Linked DNA regions of Homo sapiens: all the other regions are linked to region 3. Evidence: promoter capture Hi-C in 16 types of primary human blood cells and fetal thymus (Javierre and others, 2016). All regions are on one chromosome and are shown on one strand. The core of a region is centred on a gene start or on the middle of the fragment in contact, and the rest is flanking DNA. Distances in the headings are between cores, read along the strand shown. Region 1 has its middle 3.4 kb from the start of OSTC. Region 2 has its middle 10 kb from the start of SEC24B. Region 3 holds the start of LARP7 (La ribonucleoprotein 7, transcriptional regulator).

The links. Contacts are between HindIII fragments. The CHiCAGO score rates a contact against its expected background, and 5 or more counts as called.
Region 1: a fragment that was not itself captured here is called in contact with the fragment with the promoter of LARP7 in region 3 in 1 of 17 cell types (neutrophils); the score reaches 5.5 in neutrophils.
Region 2: a contact is called between a fragment that was not itself captured here and the fragment with the promoter of LARP7 in region 3, in 1 of 17 cell types (neutrophils). The highest score is 6.3, in neutrophils.

The regions. Positions count from the first base shown.
Region 1 is chr4:108,645,879-108,648,578 of GRCh38, reverse strand. No RefSeq gene overlaps it. Among named protein-coding and RNA genes, the nearest start is that of OSTC, 3.4 kb to the left of the region's middle. The HindIII fragment of the contact is 1,869 bases long and covers 438-2,306 here.
Region 2 is chr4:109,422,000-109,424,699 of GRCh38, reverse strand. No RefSeq gene overlaps it. Among named protein-coding and RNA genes, the nearest start is that of SEC24B, 10 kb to the left of the region's middle. The HindIII fragment of the contact is 4,993 bases long and covers 1-2,700 here.
Region 3 is chr4:112,635,811-112,638,510 of GRCh38, reverse strand. It overlaps LARP7 (La ribonucleoprotein 7, transcriptional regulator), which reads right to left and starts at 1,368. Exons shown (of 13, transcript NM_016648.4): 1 at 1,272-1,368. It overlaps ZGRF1 (zinc finger GRF-type containing 1), which reads left to right and starts at 1,602. Exons shown (of 28, transcript NM_018392.5): 1 at 1,602-1,660. RefSeq lists enhancers at 816-925, 966-1,015, 1,586-1,805. The HindIII fragment of the contact is 18,676 bases long and covers 1-2,700 here.

The sequences.
Region 1 (2,700 bases), core at 123-2,622, 4.0 Mb after region 3:
TATTATTTTTTAACCTCTTAAGCTTTGAAATATTTTTCAACATGAGTTTGTAATATTCTATAAGCCACGTATAAAAGAGACCTTTCATGAGTAAGATATGCATATCTGTTATCATCCATGTCCTAACCCACAATTCCTACAGAAAAATGTTCTATTTAAACATAACATAAACTCTGTAACTGAAAACCAAAGAAATAATGAATATAGCAGTGGGCATTAGAGCATGCCCTTAAATAAACATATAATCAATCATTCAGTGGTTTTCTATTTATAGATGAAGAAGGAAAAATGTTGAGAGAAACACAGTTTACAATATAATATGCAGTAGAGCTGTCATCTTAAGCTACATATAAAAGCAAATGTTAATAATTCTTACTGTGCACAAGCAAATATATATTCAAAGAAGAAAAAAGTGTAAAGATGGTATCTACCAAGCTTTCTGTGTTCATTGTAGAATATTTTAATAAAAAGCCTTGAAGTCAGAAATGGTTCTGCCAGCCAAAAGAGAGGGAGAGCTCCACAAATAAGTTTTTAACTAAATTCTAAACAAACTAGAATTACAAAGGCTACAAATATTGTTGATTTCTGTTTATTTAAATATGTGTTGGAGAGGAAATTAGTAGCTTTGTTTTTTGTAGGATAATAATACTAATATTAACCTGGATTTTTATTTATGAAGACATTTTGCAGTTTGGTTGACAGTGTCTTGAATTATGTTCTTTCGCGCTAGGTTCTGTATAAGCATGAGTACGAAGCACTATTATGTCTCATGATCTAAATAAAAACTCTTTCTAATGCAATATTGTGGGGTTTGGTGTTATTGTTGTAGTTATTTTACATTTTGAAGGTTGTTTTTAAAATTATATGCAAGTAATGGCTGGGCACGGTGGCTCATGCCTGTAATCCCAGCACTTTGGGAGGCCTCCTCACCTGAGGTCAGCAGTTCGAACCCAGCCTGACTAACATGATGAAACCCCATCTTTACTAAAAAATACAAAATTAGCTGGGCATGGTGGTGTATGCCTCTAATCCCAGCTACTTGCAAGGCTGAGGCAGGAGAATGGCTTGAACCCGAGTGGCGGACGTTGCAGTGAGCCGAGATCGTGCCATTGCACTCCAGCCTGGGCAACAAGAGAGAAACTCCATCTCTAAAAATAAATGAATAAACAAATAAATAATGAAAATAAGAAATAAAATTATGCAAGTAAAACATAGGAACCTGCCCAATGTAAAATAATTAATTTATTCAAATATTAGAGACACATATGGAACGAGTTTCCCATTATCACTATTCTAATTTTAGTTCTCCTTCCAGAGGTAGTGAGATCACTGAGTTCTAGAATGTACAATTGGGATAAATGTACTCAGCAAATGGAAAAATCACCATATTGGTTTCCTGACCCATATTATGAGGGCTTTTATGGCAGGAAAGTCTAAGTGTAACCAGTAGAACTGCTTTTACCTACAGAAATAATAAATCTAAAGTGACTTCAGTGGCTGATGTGCTATCAAAGACTTGAAAGATGCTGAGTAGTGATTTCTGCCACATTTCGCTCAATTAACTTGGCCCTTGCAAAAGAAAGATGGACCTTGGAGAACAACAGTGGATTATTGTAAATTTAATCATGTGGTGACTCCAACTGCTGCTGCTATTCCACTTGTGGTTTTGTCGCTGGAGCACATCAACACATCTCGTGGCACCTGTTAGCTGTTCTGGCAAATGCTGTTTCTACTTATGCCTATGGTAAAGATCATCAGAAGAAGTTTGCTTTCAACTGGCAGAGTCAGCAACACACCTCCATTTCAGAATTATATCAATTCCCCAGCTCTATGTCATAATCTGATTTGCAGGAACTTTGATTGCCTTCTCATTCACAGAATATCACACTATGACATTGCATTGATAATATGCTCATTAGACAGTGATCTAAGTAGCAACTACAGTAGATATATTGTTAGGACAAATGCATGCCAGAGGATGGAAAAATAAGCACAATAAAATGTCAGGGTCTCCTCAGGGAAATGTCTAGGGGTTAAGTGATCTGTAATACATAGAAAGCTCTTTCAAAATAAAGGATATTTGCTGCACAATGCTCAATGGATGGACCACTTGCAACATATACTTCATTTGGTCATACCATTTTGATGTATTTGCTGAGCAATCCAATAAGCTGCTAGTTTTGATTGGGATCCTGAATAAGCAAAGGTTCTTCAATAGCAAACTGCTCTGCCACTTGGGCCATACAACTTAGTAGATCCAGTATTACTTGTAACGTCTGTGGTAGATAGGCATGCTTTATGAAGCTTTTGACAAGCCACTGTAGCACAGAGCCTTAGAGCTTTGGCGCAAACCTATGTCATCCTCTGTCAAGAAATAATCTCCAGGCTTGCCACTGAGATTATTTCACAGGCAGTCATTGACAAATGACTCTAGGCTTGCCACTGAACCTTAGTAGAGATGAAACTATTGACCGTGGGCAACAAGCTACCATGAAACTTGAACTACCCATCATTTGACAATTTGGCATTGTCTAATCTATCATCCAATAAACGTGGGTGTCTACAGCAGCATTCTATCATCAAATGAAAGCGTTGTGCATAAGATCAAGCTCAAGTAGATCTTGAAGGTACAAGTAAGTTGTACAAAAAATAGTTTCAAATGCATATGGCCCACATTCCTGCCACATTGTCTCTTTTCTC
Region 2 (2,700 bases), core at 144-2,643, 3.2 Mb after region 3:
AAGGTCAAGCAAGTCACGTGTCCACGTGACGGGGGGCCTTTCCCTTTGTGATAGCTGAAGCAGAGAGGGAGGACAGTATATGTCAGCATTTCTTCTGTGCACTTATCAGGAAGATCAAAGACTTTAGTACTTTCACTAATTTTGTTACTGCTATCTTTTAAGAACTTAAAAGGAGGTGCCAGGTGTACAGGCAGAACATGAAAGTGGACAAGGAGCATGACCACTGAAGCACAGCACCACAGATGTTTAAGCCTCCAGATGACTGCGGGCAGGCCTGGCTAATGTCAGGACTCCCACAAGAGTTGGTGGAGCAGTGTTCTCTAACTCCCCCCGGGGAAAGGGAGACTCGCTTTCCCGGTCTGCTAAGTAACGGGTGCCTTCCCAGGCACTGGCGCTACCGCTAGACCAAGGTCTGCCGAGTAACGGGTGCCTTCCCAGGCACTGGCCCTACCGCTAGACCAAGGTCTGCCAAGTAATGGGTGCTTTCCCAGGCACTGACCTTACCGCTAGACCAAGGAACCCTCAAGCGGCCCTTATCCGGGCGTGACAGAGGGCTCACACTCTTGTCCTTTGGTTACTTCTCACCATGTCCCTTCAGCTCCTGACTCTGTATGGCCTGGTGTTTTCTAGGTTATGATTATAAAACAGAGATTATTATAATACTAAAAGAGCAACACTACCAACTAAAGATTGATAATATTCATATATAATCATGTCTATATCTTATTTTTAGTATAACTTTTTGTATTCTAATTATTTTCTTTTATTATACTGGAACAGCTTGTGCCTTCAGTCTCTTGCCTCAGCACCTGGGTGGCTTTCCGCCCACAAGTAGAGATGGGGTTTCTGCATGTTGGTCAGGCTGGTCTCGAACTCCCGACCTCAGGTGATCCACCTGCCTCGGCCTCCCAAAGTGCTGAGATTATAGGCATGAGCCACCGTGCCCAGCCTGCTTACTTTCAAAATAAGGTAAAAGTCTGAGGAAAAAATAATAGTTCCCATTTCTGGAGCATTTAGGCTGTGCCAGGCATTGTTCTATGTATGTTCATGTATTATTTCCTCAAAAAAGTACACACTTTAATTCTGCAGATGAGAAATCTGAAACTCAAAGAGATTGAGAATCTTCTCCACACACATGATTATCCCAATAATCTGGTGAGTTGAATGAGAAATAGAAGTCAAAGAGGAAGAAGGCAGGGTTGCCTGAAAGATTCCAGAATCTGGATATAAAGGTGCATTCTCCAGCAGCTGCTGATGGCCACTAACAGGATTTTCTCTTATATATCTTAGTTGGGCATGAAGGGTATGAGAGATTTCAAGCATACTGAGGAATGACACTTTCAATTGCTTCCCCAGCCAAGTAGCTTCAATGGACAGATTACCCAGAATTTAAAACAAGAAAAAATATAATCTAATTAGATCACTTATATTACTTTGTCATTGCCATATCTTTCTAACAATTTAAAAAAAAATGGACTTTTAAAAAAAGCCCCGTATCTGAGGCTCTAAAATCCAACAGTCCTCTTCGTTTTAATGCTTAATTTTGTTTTTGTTTTTGTTTTGAGATGGAGTCTCGCTCTGTCACCAGGCTGGAGTGCAATGGCGCAATCTCAGCTCACTGCAACCTCCGCCTCCCCGGTTCAAGCAATTCTCCTGCCTCAGCCTCCCGAAATGATTAGTTTTACAAACAGACCAGAAGCGGGGCGCAGTGGCTCACGCCTGTAATCCCAGCACTTTAGGAGGCCGAGGTGGGCGGATCACAAGGTCAGGAGTCTGAGACCAACCTGGCCAATATGATGAAACCCCGTCTCTACTAAAAATACAAAAATTAGCCCGTAGTGGTGGCCTGCGCCTGTAGTCCCAGGGCTTGGGAGGCTGAGGCAGGAGAATCGCTTGAACCCGGGAAGCGGAAGTTGCAGTGAGCCAGGATCGCGCTGCTGCACTCCAGCCTGGGCGACAGAGCGAAACTCCGTCTTAAACAAACGAACAAACAAAAAACAAAAACAAACAAACAAAAACCCAAAACAAAAAAACCAGACCAGAAAGCCCCAACCCGCTTTTCCATCTGGACGCTCTTCCTACGTAGTCTACAATGTCGGTGGGCTTCCACCGCCATCTGGTGGACGATGTGTAGATGTGCTCTGACTTGAGGAGACTTCGCTGGCGTGGAGAGGAATGTGATTAATGAGAAGAGTTTTCCATTCATGCAATTGATTTGAAAGCAATGCATAGGAATCTAAAAACTGAATAGATAAAAGTGCTTACTTCTAGGCAATCAAAAAGGGGAACAATTTGTATGTGTTGACTTATTGACTAGGATGAGATGGAACCAAATAAATTAACATTTTCTTTAATGCTGCTAGAATCCTTCAACTTCGCACTACATAGCATGCAACACTTTTTGAACAGTCCCAGCACCATGAATCTGCTTAAGTAAAGCTGTTTATGCAGTCGTCTCATCTGAGAGTACAGGAAACTCTGTATCTACATCCATTTCTGTTTATCTTTATAGTCCCCTTGTCCCACACCTAAAATTTCAACATTAAGAATCTACTTTCTCACTGGGGCCTGTCAGGGGGAGTGGGGGAAGGGAGAGCACCAGGAAAAATAGTTAATGCATGCTGGACTTAGTACCTAGATGATGGGTTGATAGATGCAGCAAACCACCATGGCACATGTTTACCTATGTAAAAAACCTGC
Region 3 (2,700 bases), core at 119-2,618:
CTCAGGACAATAATTAATTGCATCTTTACTGGACAAACCTAATTTCCATGTTGCTGTAGCGAGTTACAGGGTTGAAAAATAGTTCAAAGACCACGAAAGACATAGATAACTTGGAAGAGTGAGTCAGACAAGACACCAAGTCATTTGTGTGTGTTTGCTATTTAAAAGTATTTCGTAATTTCTCCTGAGGAAATTATATGAAAAATGTTTGTTTGGAGACGCAGCCTCTCTCAGTGGCCCAGGCTGCAGTGCAGTGGCGCGATCCCGGCTCACTGTAATCTCTGCTTCCCGAGTTCAAGCGATTCTCCCAACCAAGCCTCTTGAGTAGCTGGGACTACAGGTGTGCACCACCACTCCCCGCTAATTTTTGTGTTTTTAGTAGAGACGAGATTTTGCCATATTGGCCAGGCTGGTCTCGAACTCCTGACCTCAAGTGATCCTCCCGCGTCGGCCTCCCAAAGTGCTGGGATTACAGGCGTGAGCCACCGTGCCCAGCCTCGCAAAATGTTTTAATAGGTACATGCACGTTTTCCTGAGAAGCTAATCCATATAATTAAGTTTTCAAAAGAAGTGTGCCACAACAGGTTAAGAATCATTGTTCTGGTCACTGCTTACAACTCAAGTCCCTCAACACGTAGTGGCCTGTGTGTTCTGCTTTGTCTGAATCTTCTCGTCTAAATTTCCTTATTAAATTTTCAAGGCCCAGGTTAAATGGCATCTTACTCTTTGAGATCTTCCACCACCCTGTGTCCTATCATTTGTTTTCTCTTAAGTTTCTTTGCAAACGCACTCTGCACACCATATCTAGCAAGTGTTAGTTCCCTTCCGTAACTGGATTTTTTACTCTTTGAGGACGATGGCAGAGTCCTGCAAAAGAAGATGATAATTTTAGAATATAAATCCTCACGTTCGCTATCTTCTGGCAGCCACAGCTCAGCTCCAATCTGCGAAATACGGCACTCTCTTTATTGACTACTGCTTCTCTCGGCACCCGTACTTCCGCAAGGACGCCGTCATAGGCCGGGCGCGCCCCAAACCTCCCCACGCCGGGCCCCTATGCGCCCTTACTGTCTGAAAACGGGAACTACAAGTGCTGCCGAAGACTTTTGCGCGTGCGCATAGATAACTAGGCCAAGGAACTGATGGGTGTGCAGGACGGGGGGGCGGGGTAAGAAGGACGATAGATGATAGAGTGGACCGCAAGAAAAAGGACGGAGAGTTAATTAGACTTCGCCCAAGCTGTGCGACCCTATAGGCCGCTTGTAACTTACTCCGTTCGACTCCCAAAATACAGGGTCAAGTACTGCGGCCTTCGGACATTTCCGTCTCCGGATCCTGATAGTCTCGGTTACTTTCGCGTCATAGGATGAGCGACAACGTTTTCCGGTCCCAATTGAGAAAGACGGGCCCGGAGGCAGTGCGCGCTCCACCTACGTCACAGGCGAGGTGGTTCCAGGAGGGCTGGGCATCGGAGAGCGCGGCCGGCTGAGAGACTCGAAGCCAAGGAAGAATTTGATTGGCGATTTGAAAGCGGCGGTTTTTGGCTTAGGCGGAGGTGGGCGGGCCAAGTTTTGGGTCCTCATCTGGTGAGGTCCCGCGTTAATGACGTCACGTTGTTTCGCGGGAGAAATTCGAAAGTGGATTTTGTGCAATTTGACAGGTGAGGTGAAGTGTTTCTCGGGATTTCCTAGGAATGACTTGAGCGATTTGGGGCGAAGGGACGAAAGACTCTGCTCCTTAAGAAGAGAACCGGGAAGGATGCTGTTTGGAACCAGGATTGGGGTGGTCGCAGTCACAGCTACTCGGACTGCTTGTAGTAAGTGGTGCCTCTTCACCGTTTTTCCCAGGCCTTGCTTTGCAATTTCGAGTAGGTATGAGGACCAAAGAGGGCTTTGCTGTTTGTATTTAGGACTGAGAAAGGATCAAGTCTCCATTGTCATTTGGTGACAGGATTATGGTTCTTAGAATCTTGGCAAATGAGATGTGGGTTTCCTTTGTTTATTTGGACTGGATGGTTTGTTAACAATGTTGAGTTCATGATTCCAAAACTTTGTTATCCGAACTATTTAGAGGTTCAGGTTTAGGTTCAAAAAATACTCCTTGTTTAAAAAAAAAGGAAAAATATCTAGTATTTAAATGAATAATGGCTCATACTTTACTGAGAACACCGAGTTTTATGTATATATATTGCGTCCGTACATATAGTAGCACAATGTATATGTATGTATATGTGTGTATGTACGTATATCTGTGTGTATGTATGTATGTATATAATTATCACAGAGCATCTGGGGTCTTTAAAAACTTATTTGGAGATTAATCTTTCACCTATTAGAAGTCGGTCAACAGGTGAATTGTCTGGTAGACGTGGACAGATGAACACTTGGAAAAAACTCTTTGCATCTCACTTAAATATATATGATGCTGTTGTCTAAAATAATTTTTTCTGATTAATACTAAGATAAGAAAGGGTGTTGACTTTCAATGAATAAGTATTAGAGCTCTTCTAAATTTTAAAAGATCCAGTTAGCTTTTTTTTTTTAGGTTTTCTCCTATAATCGAATTTAACCATCCTTTAAGAGTTTCAGTCTTCTTAGTTCTTTTTAAACTGTACATTCCAGAAGTAATATCTCAATTTAGGAAAATAATGGAGAATTTATCTTGCAATTGTGAAATAGCATATAAGTTATCCTAAACTAG